Regions from separate parts of the Homo sapiens genome. Here region 2 is linked to region 1. The links are contacts of gene promoters, found by promoter capture Hi-C in human tissues and cell types (Jung and others, 2019). All regions are on one chromosome and are shown on one strand. Each heading gives the region's core, a stretch centred on a gene start or on the middle of the fragment in contact. The rest is flanking DNA. Distances are from core to core; before and after follow the strand shown. Region 1 holds the start of TRMT10B (tRNA methyltransferase 10B). Region 2 has its middle 16 kb from the start of FAM201A.

Evidence for each region. Contacts are between HindIII fragments. The study calls those that stand out against the background at their distance.
Region 2: a contact is called between a fragment that was not itself captured here and the fragment with the promoter of TRMT10B in region 1, in 1 of the 25 tissues and cell types used here (dorsolateral prefrontal cortex).

What each region holds. Positions count from the first base shown.
Region 1 is chr9:37,749,845-37,755,398 of GRCh38, reverse strand. TRMT10B (tRNA methyltransferase 10B) reads right to left here and starts at 1,594. Exons shown (of 9, transcript NM_144964.4): 1 at 1,547-1,594. RefSeq lists a silencer at 1,450-1,684. The HindIII fragment of the contact is 14,807 bases long and covers 1-5,554 here.
Region 2 is chr9:38,634,702-38,640,313 of GRCh38, reverse strand. No RefSeq gene overlaps it. Among named protein-coding and RNA genes, the nearest start is that of FAM201A, 16 kb to the right of the region's middle. The HindIII fragment of the contact is 4,842 bases long and covers 1,636-5,612 here.

The DNA.
Region 1 (5,554 bases), core at 345-2,844:
TTTGTAAATGTGCAGTTAAAAACACACCTAAGGGCATCCACATTGTGTGCCACCATCACCACTGTCCAGCTCCAGAGCTTGTTTGTCTTCCTAAAGTGAAACTAACTTTAAAAAAAAAAAAAAAAAAAAAGACGGAGTCTTACTCTGTCGCCCAGGCTGGAGTGCAGTGGCGCGATCTCGACTCACTGCAAGCTTTGCCTCCCAGGTTCACGCATTCTCCTGCCTCAGCTTCCTGAGTAGCTGGGACTACAGGCACCCGCCACCATGTCCGGCTAGATTTTTTTGTATTTTTAGTAGAGACGGAGTTTCACCATTTTAGCCAGGATGGTCTCGATCTCCTGACCTCGCGACCCACCTGTCTGGGCCTCCCAAAGTGCTAGGATTACAGGCGTGAGCCACCACACCCGACCCTGTGACCTTTATATAACTCTCCCTTCCCCAATCCTGGCAGCACCTTTGTATTTCCTATCTTATGAATTTGAGTGCTGCTCTGGTTTGAATGTTTGTCCCCTTCTCACATTCAGGTTGAAACTTAATTGCCATTGTAACAGTATCAAGAAGTGAGATTTCATTTATTTTTCATTTCTTCATTAAACATCTTTTCTGAGCCTCCAATTATGGGTCCGATGCTGAATATTCATTACTTTCGTTCAACAAAGCTACTAAGCACCTGACATAATAGTACATCCTGGGGACTTGGGGATGACATTCGTTCTGCTTTCATGGGGCTCCAATTATCTGACCCTGCCTTGCATGACAGCTGTCTACCTGTTTCCCCACTAGATTATAAACCCAGGGAAGAATTGGAAGAATTCACCTGTACACCCTCAGTACCCGAGCCCTGTGAGCATCCTAAGTATTTGATGATCACCACTCTTCTGCTTAGAACCCTGCAGTACTCTCCATTTCACTGACAGTAAATAGCCCAAATCCATACAATGACCTATGCAGATCACTAAGGTCTACCTTTCTCGTTTCCTCTGCACTCCGGGGTCTATTTGCTGTTCCTCAAACATACCCTTCAAGGCCTTTACATTCGCCGTTCTCTTTACCCTCAATGCTCTTCCCTAAGACACTCACAGACTACCTTCCTCTCCTCATTCATATTACTATCCAACATAACCTATTTTACTTGTTGTCGGAACCTCCTCCATCCCTTCAATGTAGGCAAGTGTTGTTTGCTTATAGATGCTTAATAAATACTTGCTGAGTTCATAAATCCTCCACTCCGCACCCCCACCCTAGGTTGGCAGAGGCCTCAGACCTTTGCTAGCCTAACTCCCACCTGATGGGTACCTACACTGCCGCTAAGTGATGGCACATCGAATTCAGCCTGAGAGCACCCCGCCTGCGGGTCTCTCCCGGCCCACAGGCTGAGCGTGCGAGTGGAAGCAGGAAGGGAAAGTATCAGGAAGGTGGAGTACCACAGGCCACATGACTGCTAAACGCTGCTTTCTCAACGTCCGCCCCACCCGCGAGGGAGGCGGACGTCCCAGGACAGACCCCGCAGCCCCCAGCCAGCCCCCTTAACCAGCGGACAGCGTACCTGATCCCCTCACCCCCACGCAGCGGCAGCGGCGCGCATCGGATCCCCCCCGCCCCCGGCCTCGCTTCCGCTTCGTAACTCCGCTCCGAATGGCATTCTGGAAATTGTAGTTTTTCACCTGCAGGGTGCTCGTGGGGCCGAGCCGGAGCGGAGGCTGCGGCTTCTACTCCCAGCCCTGGCGGTAGGGAGCTGCGTCCTGCTGTGGTGGTTGCCCACCTTCTCTGAACCCCTGTCTCCCCGTCTGCTGGACAGCTATTACAACCCCAACCCTTTACCAACTTCACAGGGCTCCTACAGGTGCTCTGTTGGTTGTCAAGGGCTGGACATTGCGAAACTGGGGTGTGTGAAGCAAAAAAATTCTAAGGCCCGCACCCGACTGAATGGACCTCCCTCTCTGCCGAAGGAAACCTTAAAAACTAGTTATGGCCATTACAGGAAGCGGGAGTGGAGCGGGGCGGTTGGACATGCACTGATATTATATCCCATCCCTTGCGGAGTTTAGGCCCAACGGGGACTGACACAACAGAATCTTTGTAGAACTAAAATATCAAATTCCAACCTGATATCATATTGTGTCCGGAAATGGTGGATTCTTGGTCTCACTGACTTCAAGAATGAAACCGCGGACCATCGCGGTGTTACAATTCTTAAAGACTGCGTGTCTGGAGTTTCTTCCTTCTGGCGGGTTCATGGTCTCGCTAGCTTCAGGAGTGAAGCTGCAGATCTTCGCAATGAGTGTTAAATCTCTTAAGAGGGCACACCTGGAGTTGTTCCTTCGCTCTCGGTGGGTTCGTGGTCACACGGGCCTCAAGAAAGAGCTGCAAATACAGATCTTCACGGCGAGTGTTATAGCTCACAAAGACAGTAGGGACCCAAAGGGTTAGCAAGCAACAAGATTTATTACAAAGAACAAAGCACCCACAGTCCAGAAAGGCAACCCCAACGGGTTGCCGCTGCTTGCTCGGGCAGCCTGTTTTTATTCTCCTATCTGGCCCCACCCACATCCTGCTGATTGGTCCACTTTACAGAGAGCCGATTGGTCTGTTTTACAGAGAGTTGATTGGTCCGTTTTGACAGGGTGCTGATTGGTGCGTTAACAATCCCTGAGCTAGACACAAAAGTTCTCCAAGTCCCCACTAGATTAGCTAGACACAGAGTGTTGATTGGTATATTTACAAACCCTGAGCTAGACACAGAGTGCTGATTGGTGCATTTACAAACCTTGAGCTAGATACAGAGTGCCGATTGGTGCATTCACAATCCCTTAGCTATACATAAAGATTCTCCAAGTCCCCACCAGATTAGCTAGACACAGAGTGCCGATTGGTGCATCCACAAACCCTGAGCTGGACACAGAGTGCTGATTGGTGCATTTACAAACCTTGAGCTAGATACAGAGTGCTCATTGGTGTATTTACAATCCCTTAGCTAAACATAAAGGTTCTCCAAGTCCCCACTGGACTCAGGAGCCCAGCTGGCTTCATCCAGTGGATCCAGCACTGGGGCCGCAGGTGAAGCTACCTGCCAGTCCCTCGCCGTGTGCCCACATTCCTCAGCCTTTGGGCGGTCGATGGGACCGGGTGCCGTGGAGCAGGGGTCAGTGCTCGTCTGGGAGGCTTGGGCCTCTCGGGAGCCCACGGCGGGGGTGGGGGTGGGGGTAGGGGTGGGGGTAGGGGTAGGGGTAGGGGTAGGGGGAAGGCTCAGGCATGGCGGGCTGCAGGTCCCAAGCCCTGCCCCGCAGGTAGGCAGCTAAGGCCCAGCGAGAAATCAACAGCAGCGCCGGTGGGCCGGCCCTGCTGGGGGACCCAGCGCACCCTCCGCAGCTGCTGGCCTGGGTGCTAAGCCCCTCACTGCCTGGGGCCGGCGGGGCCGGCCGCCGCTCCGAGTGCAGGGCCCGCCAAGCCCACGCCCACCCGGAACTCTAGCTGGCCCGCAAGCGCCCTGCGAGCAGCCCCGGTTCCCCCTGTGCCTCTCCCTCCCCACCTCCCGGCAGGCTGAGGGAGCCGGCTCCGGCCTCGGCCATCCCAGGAAGGGGGTCCCACAGTGCAGCGGCAGGCTGAGGGGCTCCTCAAGCGTGGCCAGAGCGGGCGCCAAGGCCGAGGAGGTGCCAAGAGCGAGCGAGGGCTGCCATCACTCTGTCACCTCTCAACATGACAGAAAAACAAAAATTTTTTACCCCAAAATATGTTTCATTGCCATAATTTGAAATGGCCCCTGCAAAGCTGTTTTGTGTTGAGGGTGCGGGAGGGATTTGCATCTGTAAAAAAACCTCTATTAACCTAACTAGATCTTTCCCCTCCCAGGCCCTTCCAATTCTGGAGATTAACTGAGTCTAGCACCTTTTTTCCCCTTCGTTAACAGGTGAAACCAAATTTGGACGGCCCATCATCCCACAGCCTTGCCCTTCCCCAGGCTTTGCCACAGCCAGCAGAGCCCTCGAGCTGACACAACCCTTTCCTGAGTACACAACCTCCCTCGCCACTGCCCCAGCCTACAACAGAATATCAGGGCTTTGACCAGGATGATTCTAGCCCCTGGGCACTCTTCTTCCTCCATCAGAGACACGAAGCGGCTTGCCCAAGCCTTGGCCTCTTTATCAGCCACTCTTCCTTCACTCCTGCAGTCCTAAGAGGTCTCACCCATTCAGAGAGACTCCAACCTGAATGAGCCCGAAATATCTCCCGTTCAAGAAACTACAGCTTGGTTGGATTCCTCCTTGGCCCAACAATTCCCCCCTGTGGACTTTTCTTTCCACAGCTCCTCTAGCACCTACCAGCCATCCCCAATCCATGCTCCAATCCATCCATTATCAGCTTCCAGGACGATTTTGTTTTTTTTTTTTACAAATTTTTTCTTTTTCTTAAAAAAAAAAAAAAAAAAGACAGGGCTTCACCATGTTGCCCAGGCTGGTCTTGAACTCCTGGGCTCAAGCGATTCGCTTGCCTCGGCCTCTGAAATTGCTGGGATTACAGGTGTGAGCCACCGTGCCCGGCTGCGATTTTAAAATACTAACACTAAAAATTCATTCCCACCCCCCCAACTCTCCACCCCATAAGGCTTTTTCTTCTTTTTTTTTTTTTGAGACGGAGTCTTGCTCTGTCGCCCAGGCTGGAGTGCAGTGGCACGATCTCGGCTCACTGCAAGCTCTGCTGCCCGGGTTCACGCCATTCTCCTGCCTCAGCCTCCCGAGTAGCTGGGACTACAGGCAGCCACCACGCCCGGGTAATTTTTGTATTTTTTTTTTAGACGGGGTTTCACCGTGTTAGCCAGGATGGTTTCGATCTCCTGACCTCGTGATCCGCCCGCCTCGGCCTCCCAAAGTGTTGGGATTACAGGCGTGAGCCACCGCGCCTGGCCCTCCCATAAGGCTTTTTCTAAAGCCCAGCTTTAACATCTCTGCTCTGCTCAGAGATGGCCCTGGCTTCCGACTGTCTGCTGAAATGCCCCAGTGGGGCTTGCACCATGGCTTAAATGATCTTCAATGACGCCTTCAGGTTTTAGCTCACACCACACCTACCAGTCCCTGCGCCTCACACTGAGCCATACTGAACACTTTCCTCCGCTCCCTGCCACCGCTCTTGTGTCCTTTGCCTCTGAATAAGCTCATAGCCACTTTCCAGTGGGAGGAAAAGACCTTCTAGCTGGTCTCATTGCTTTCCCCAATCCCCACTCCATCTGTTTGCCATATGATTATGTGTCTCTCCTGATGTAAAATCTAACCCCCTGCCCGAGGTCTTGTATTATACAACCCAGCTCCTGCATGCCCCTCCCAGCTTCATCTCCTATCACTCTTCCTCCAGCTTGCTATGTTCCAGTTGCGCTGATCCTGAAATGCTTCAAACACACTGTGAGCCTTTGCAAATACTATTCCCTTTTCTCTCACTTTTCCATTCCTGGCTTCTTATACTTTAGGCCCCAGCTTCAGCATTCCCTCTTCAGAAAGGCCTTTCCTGACGATCACTTTGGCAAGATTGGTTCATTCTATCCCTGTCTTGGCATCTTTTCTTG
Region 2 (5,612 bases), core at 2,807-5,306, 880 kb before region 1:
CTGCTCTTTTTCTCTGTGTGCTTGTACCACATGGCTCTGAACCACAATAGAACTACAGCCCACTGGAGGAATTTGCATATTGAATCTGACCTAGCCGATTGCCATTGAAAACAACAGCAAAAGACATTGTCCTGACGTTTTAAACAAAACCCAGAGTCTCATAAGATAATATCCAAAATATTCAGGATATAATCCAAAATGGTTCAGCATGTAAAGAACAAGGAAAATCTCAACTTGCAAGTGAAAAGACAGTTACACTTCAGAACTAAAAATAAAAACACTGAAATTAAAAATTCACAAGATGATCTCAACAGCAGAATAGAAATGACAAAGGAAAAAGTCCATGAACTTAAAGATAGATCAATAAAAAGTATTCAATATAAGCAACAGAGAGGAAAAACGTTTGAAGAAAAATGAGCATAGCCTTAAGGATCTGTGTAACAATACAATGACACATCTGTGCCATTGGAGTTCTACAGAGAGAAGCATAAGAACAGAGTAAAAAATATATGAAGCCATGCATCTCTTAATGACAGTAATACATTCCGAGACATGTGTCGTTAGGCAATTTCATCACTGTGTGAACCACAGAGTGCACTTCCGCAAACATAGATGATAAAGCCTACTACACACCTACGCTATATGGTATATCCTGTAGCTCCTAGGCCATATGCCTGCATAACATGTTACTATATGGAATACTGCCGGCAATTGTATTACAATGGTAAGTGTTTGTATATCCAAACATATCTAAACAGAGAAAAGGTGTAGTAAAAATATGGTAGAAAAGACAAAAAATGGTACACCTATGTAGGACACTTACCATGAATGGAGCTTGCAGGACTGGAAGTTGCTCTGGGTGAGTCAGTGTGTGAGTGGTGAGTAAATATGAAGGCCTAGGACATTAATGTACACTATTGCTGACTTTATAAACACAGTACACTCAGGCTACACTGAATGTATTTTAATTATTTTCTTTAGGCTGGGTAAAAATTTGACAAAACCATTAATAGAGGTCCCCAAGTATTGGGAAAGTGTTTCAGGAAGTGCAAGCATATGACAGTTAAAATATATGGCACTGTGGACAGGTGCTTAAGATTTTTATGATAAAGTGTAGCAAGTTGCAAGGTATGACCAGTCATTTCATATCTTGCATCTTGATGTCACACCTTGCAGTGGAGTGGAGAGAAAAGTTATTGGGTCAAAAGAGTCGAGGAACCATGAGTCACTTTACAAGAATTATCAGACTGCCCATGGGGAGCAGTGACAAGAAGCCCAGGGCTACAGGAAGGGAGAGGACTATGATGGACATCAGTGGAGTCACGTTGCATGGTGGCATGAGTCTCAAAAGTCAAAGGCGTGTAACAACGGAGAAGCGAGTGGAAGTGGGGAATGCAGATCTGACTGGCCGGGTGTGGTGGCTCACACCTGTAATCTCAGCACTTTGGGAGGCCGAGGTGGGCAGATCACGAGGTCAGGAGATCGAGACCATCCTGGCTAACACGGTGAAATCCCGCCTCTACTAAAAATACAAAAAATCAGCCGGGCGTAGTAATGGGCACCTGTAGTCCCAGCTACTCAGCTGAGGCAGGAGAATGGTGTGAACCTGGGAAGCGGAGCTTTCAGTGAGCCAAGATGGTGCCACTGCACTCCAGCCTAGGAGAAGGGAAAAGGACTCTCTTCCCATAATTCCACGTGACCCAGGTGCCACGAATATATTACCATGTAGGGAAAAATCAATGGCTATGAACACTTTCTTCTTTAAATGTATAATAAAACAATACTTTTTTTTTTTTGAAACAGAATCTCACTCTGTCGCCCAGGCTGGAGTGCAGTGGCACAATCTCAGCTCACTGCAACATCTGCTTTCCAGGTTCAAGCAAGTCTTCTGCCTCAGCTTCCCGAGTAGCTGGGACTACAGGCGCATGCCACCATGCCAGGCTAATTTTTGTATTTTTAGTAGAGATGGGGTTTCACCATATTGGCCAGGCTGGTCTGAAAGTCCTGACCTCATGATCTGCCCACCTTGGCCTCCCAAAGTGCTGGGATTACAGGCATGAGCCACCACGTCTGGCCAAAAATACATTTTCTTTCTTCCCTCTTCTTCCACCCAAAGCCACGAATTTGACTTAAGATACATTTTTTTTCCTTTATATGTTCACATAACTTAAGGAATAGTAAACCAAAGAAGGAAAGAAAGAAACAGAAACTAAGCCAGATAGAAAAATGAGTAACTGGGGTCAGGCTCAGTGGCTCACACCTGTAATCCCAGCACTTTGGGTAGCTGAGGAAAGAGGAACAGTTGAGCCCTAGGCAACGTGGCAAAAACCAATTTCTACAAAAAAAAAAAAAAAAAAAAAAAAAGAAAAAAAATTAGCTGGGTGTGGTGTCACATGACTGTAGTCCCAGCTACTTGGGGGGCTGAGGAGGGATGATTGCTTGAGCACAACAGGTCGAGGCTGCAGTGAGCTGTGATCATGCCATCGCACTCCAGCCTGGGTCACAGAACGAGGCCCTGTCTCAAAACAAAATAAAATGGTGCCGGGCATGGTGGCTCACGCCTGTAATCCCAGCACTTTGGGAGGCCGAGGCGGACAGATCACAAGATCAGGAATCGGAGACCAGCCTAACCAACATGTTGAAACCCCGTCTTACTAAAAATACAAAAAATTACCCGGGCATGGTGGTGGGCGCCTGTAATCCCAGCTACTCGGGAGGCTGAGGCAGGAGAATCGCTTGAACCGGGAGGCGGAGGATGCAGTGAGCCGAGATCGCGCCACTGCACTCCAGCCAGGGCGACAGTGACTCAGTCTCAAAACAAAACAAAACAAAAAATTGTAACTGGAACCCCCCCCCAGCCCCAAATATCTCAGATCTAACTCCCACTGAGAATAGTTTTGAAATCTGAATATAATGATAACAGAAAAGCAAATCTCTTAAAGTCTAGGAGAATGATAAAAGGCAGACAGGATTTTTAAAGTAAAAAAATCAAGACACAGGCGGCCGGGCGCGGTGGCTCACGCTGTAATCCCAGCACTTTGGGAGGCCGAGGCGGGCAGATCGCGAGGTCAGGAGATTGAGACCATCCTGGCTAACACGGTGAAACCCCGTCTCTATTAAAAATACAAAAAATTAGCTGGGCATGGTGACGGGCGTCTGTAGTCCCAGCTAGTCTGGGAGCTGAGGCAGGAGCTACGCTGAGGCTGAGACAGGAGAATGGCATGAACCTGGGAGGGGGAGCTTGCAGTGAGCCGAGATTGCGGCACTGCACTCCAGCCTGGGCGACAGAGAGAGACTCCGCCTCAAAAAAAATAAAAAATAAAAAAAAATTAAAAATTAAAATAAAATCAAGACACAGGCATATCTGCATATCTATTAAGATTATTTTCACATTTTGCAAATCATTTTCCTTTCAGGGGATTTGCTGCTGAGTTTCAGTTTAGGGCATTGCAGTCAAACAGGAATCTGCAGCTCAGATAAAGTGGTTTTGGGAGACACAGGATATGAGAGCCCCTGAACTGGGCTATCAAGCAGTGAGAGTTTGAAGGACCTATTATCTAGGAAGAATTACAAGAGAGTGAGCCTGACATCTGCCTGGCTTTCGGTTCTTGATAGATTTACCCAATCCTATTTTTTTTTTCTAAGATTAGAAGCAAAGGAACCAAATAAAAGAGGTGCTTTCAGTGGTCTAGAAAGCTTAACAGAGCATTTGGAATTGTGGGTCCTGGGAGACAGAGGTGGGAGTTCATGGCCTATCTTTCAAAGGAGATCTGCTTGGAAAAATCACAGTCTCTGGAGTCGTGACTTAAAAAGAGATAAGCACTGGGAAAGTCACTAGGCTGAAATGTAGTCTTGATTCACTCCCTTGACTGACTGGATCAAGGCGGTCCTTTGACTGCCAGAAGAAAACCAAGTCCTCTCTGGAGAAGACAAGAATGCACAGCCAAGCTTGGGTATCAACGCAAACTCACCTGAAACATCCAGAAACAGCATCCCATGACCCAACACCAAGAGAGACACAATAAGAAAGGAGCAGGGGCCGGGCGCGGTGGCTCACGCCTGTAATCCCAACACTTTGGGAGGCGGAGGCAGGCGGATCACGAGGTCAGGAGATCGAGACCATCTTGGTTAACATGGTGAAACTCCGTCTCTACTAAACATACAAAAAATTAGCCGGGCGTGGTGGCGGGTGCCTGTAGTCCCAGCTACTCAGGAGGCTGAGGCAGGAGAATGGCGTGAACCCGGCAGGCGGAGCTTGCAGTGAGCCAAGATTGCTCCACTGCACTCCAGCCTGGGCGACGGAGCGAGACTCCGTCTCAAAAAAAAAAAAAAAAAAAAAAAAAAAAAAGGGAGCAGGGTTTCTGGATACCACTGTTATCAATAATAACAGGAACTTTAATAGTTAACTATGATTCATGTGTTTTAGAAAAGAAACAAATGATCCAGATTTTTGGCAGAAAACTGGAAACCATAATGAATCAAATAGAAATTCAGAATTGAAAATAAATATCTGAAATACAAAATGCATACATATGGGTTGAGTTGGAAGATAGATTAGTAGAAAACATTTTAAGTGAAGCAGAAAAAAATTGATAGAATGTACAGAAAATATCTGTGTAATTGAAGTTCCAGAAGAAAGGGAGAGAGGAATTGGGACATAAGCAATATTTTAAGACAATATCACCAAGAATTTCCCCAAACTGACAATAGACAGTAAAAGAGAGATTTAAGAAATTCTACAAAGCAGGCAAATTAATTTAAGAAAAACTTCACCTAGTACATTATAATAAGTATGCAGAAAAACAGGGCAAGGAAAAGATTTTAAAAGCAGCACAAACAAAGAAATGTTATTTTCAAAAGAGAAAATATTAATATAAGGCTGACAGACAGTGTCTCAATATACACAAAGGAGGTAAACAGAATGGCGTCCTTGAAATGTTGGGAAAGTGAAACAAGCTAACAGACAAAAAAGATAATTAAAAAGAAGTTTATTAATCAAAAAGAAAAAGCAATAAAAACCTCTAATTTATCAGTAATTACATTCTAAATAAATAGTAAAACTGATTGGGTGAAAATAAAACAACTCTTTTATACTTACAAGAAACAAACATTAAGTAGGCATACGTAGAATAGTTGAAAGTCAAAGGTTAGAAAAAGATATTCTTTGTAAAGACCAAACAAGAGAAGGAAAAAAAAATGTATAGCTTTATAATCATAAGTCAAAGTTGACATTAATGCAAGATATATTGCTAAAAAGAAAAAAAAAAGAATAACAGCCATCAAAGAGAGTGATATGACAATCCTAAATTTGTAAGCTTTAAATAATAATATATTCTCAAAATATGGAACACAGAAATTGACCAAACTGCAAACCAAAATAAGAACATTCAACATTATAAAGATTTTAACTTACCTCTCTAAAACTGATGCTCCAATCAGACAAAACAATCAATAGAAATGTCAATTTGAACAACTTGATTACAAACTTGACACACAGAAAGCCCTGCAACCAATACTTACAGAATATAATTTGTTGTAAGTGCATGTGGGACCCTTACCAAAATTGACCGTATTTAAATAAAAAATGCTATTTTCTGACAAAGGACTAGGAT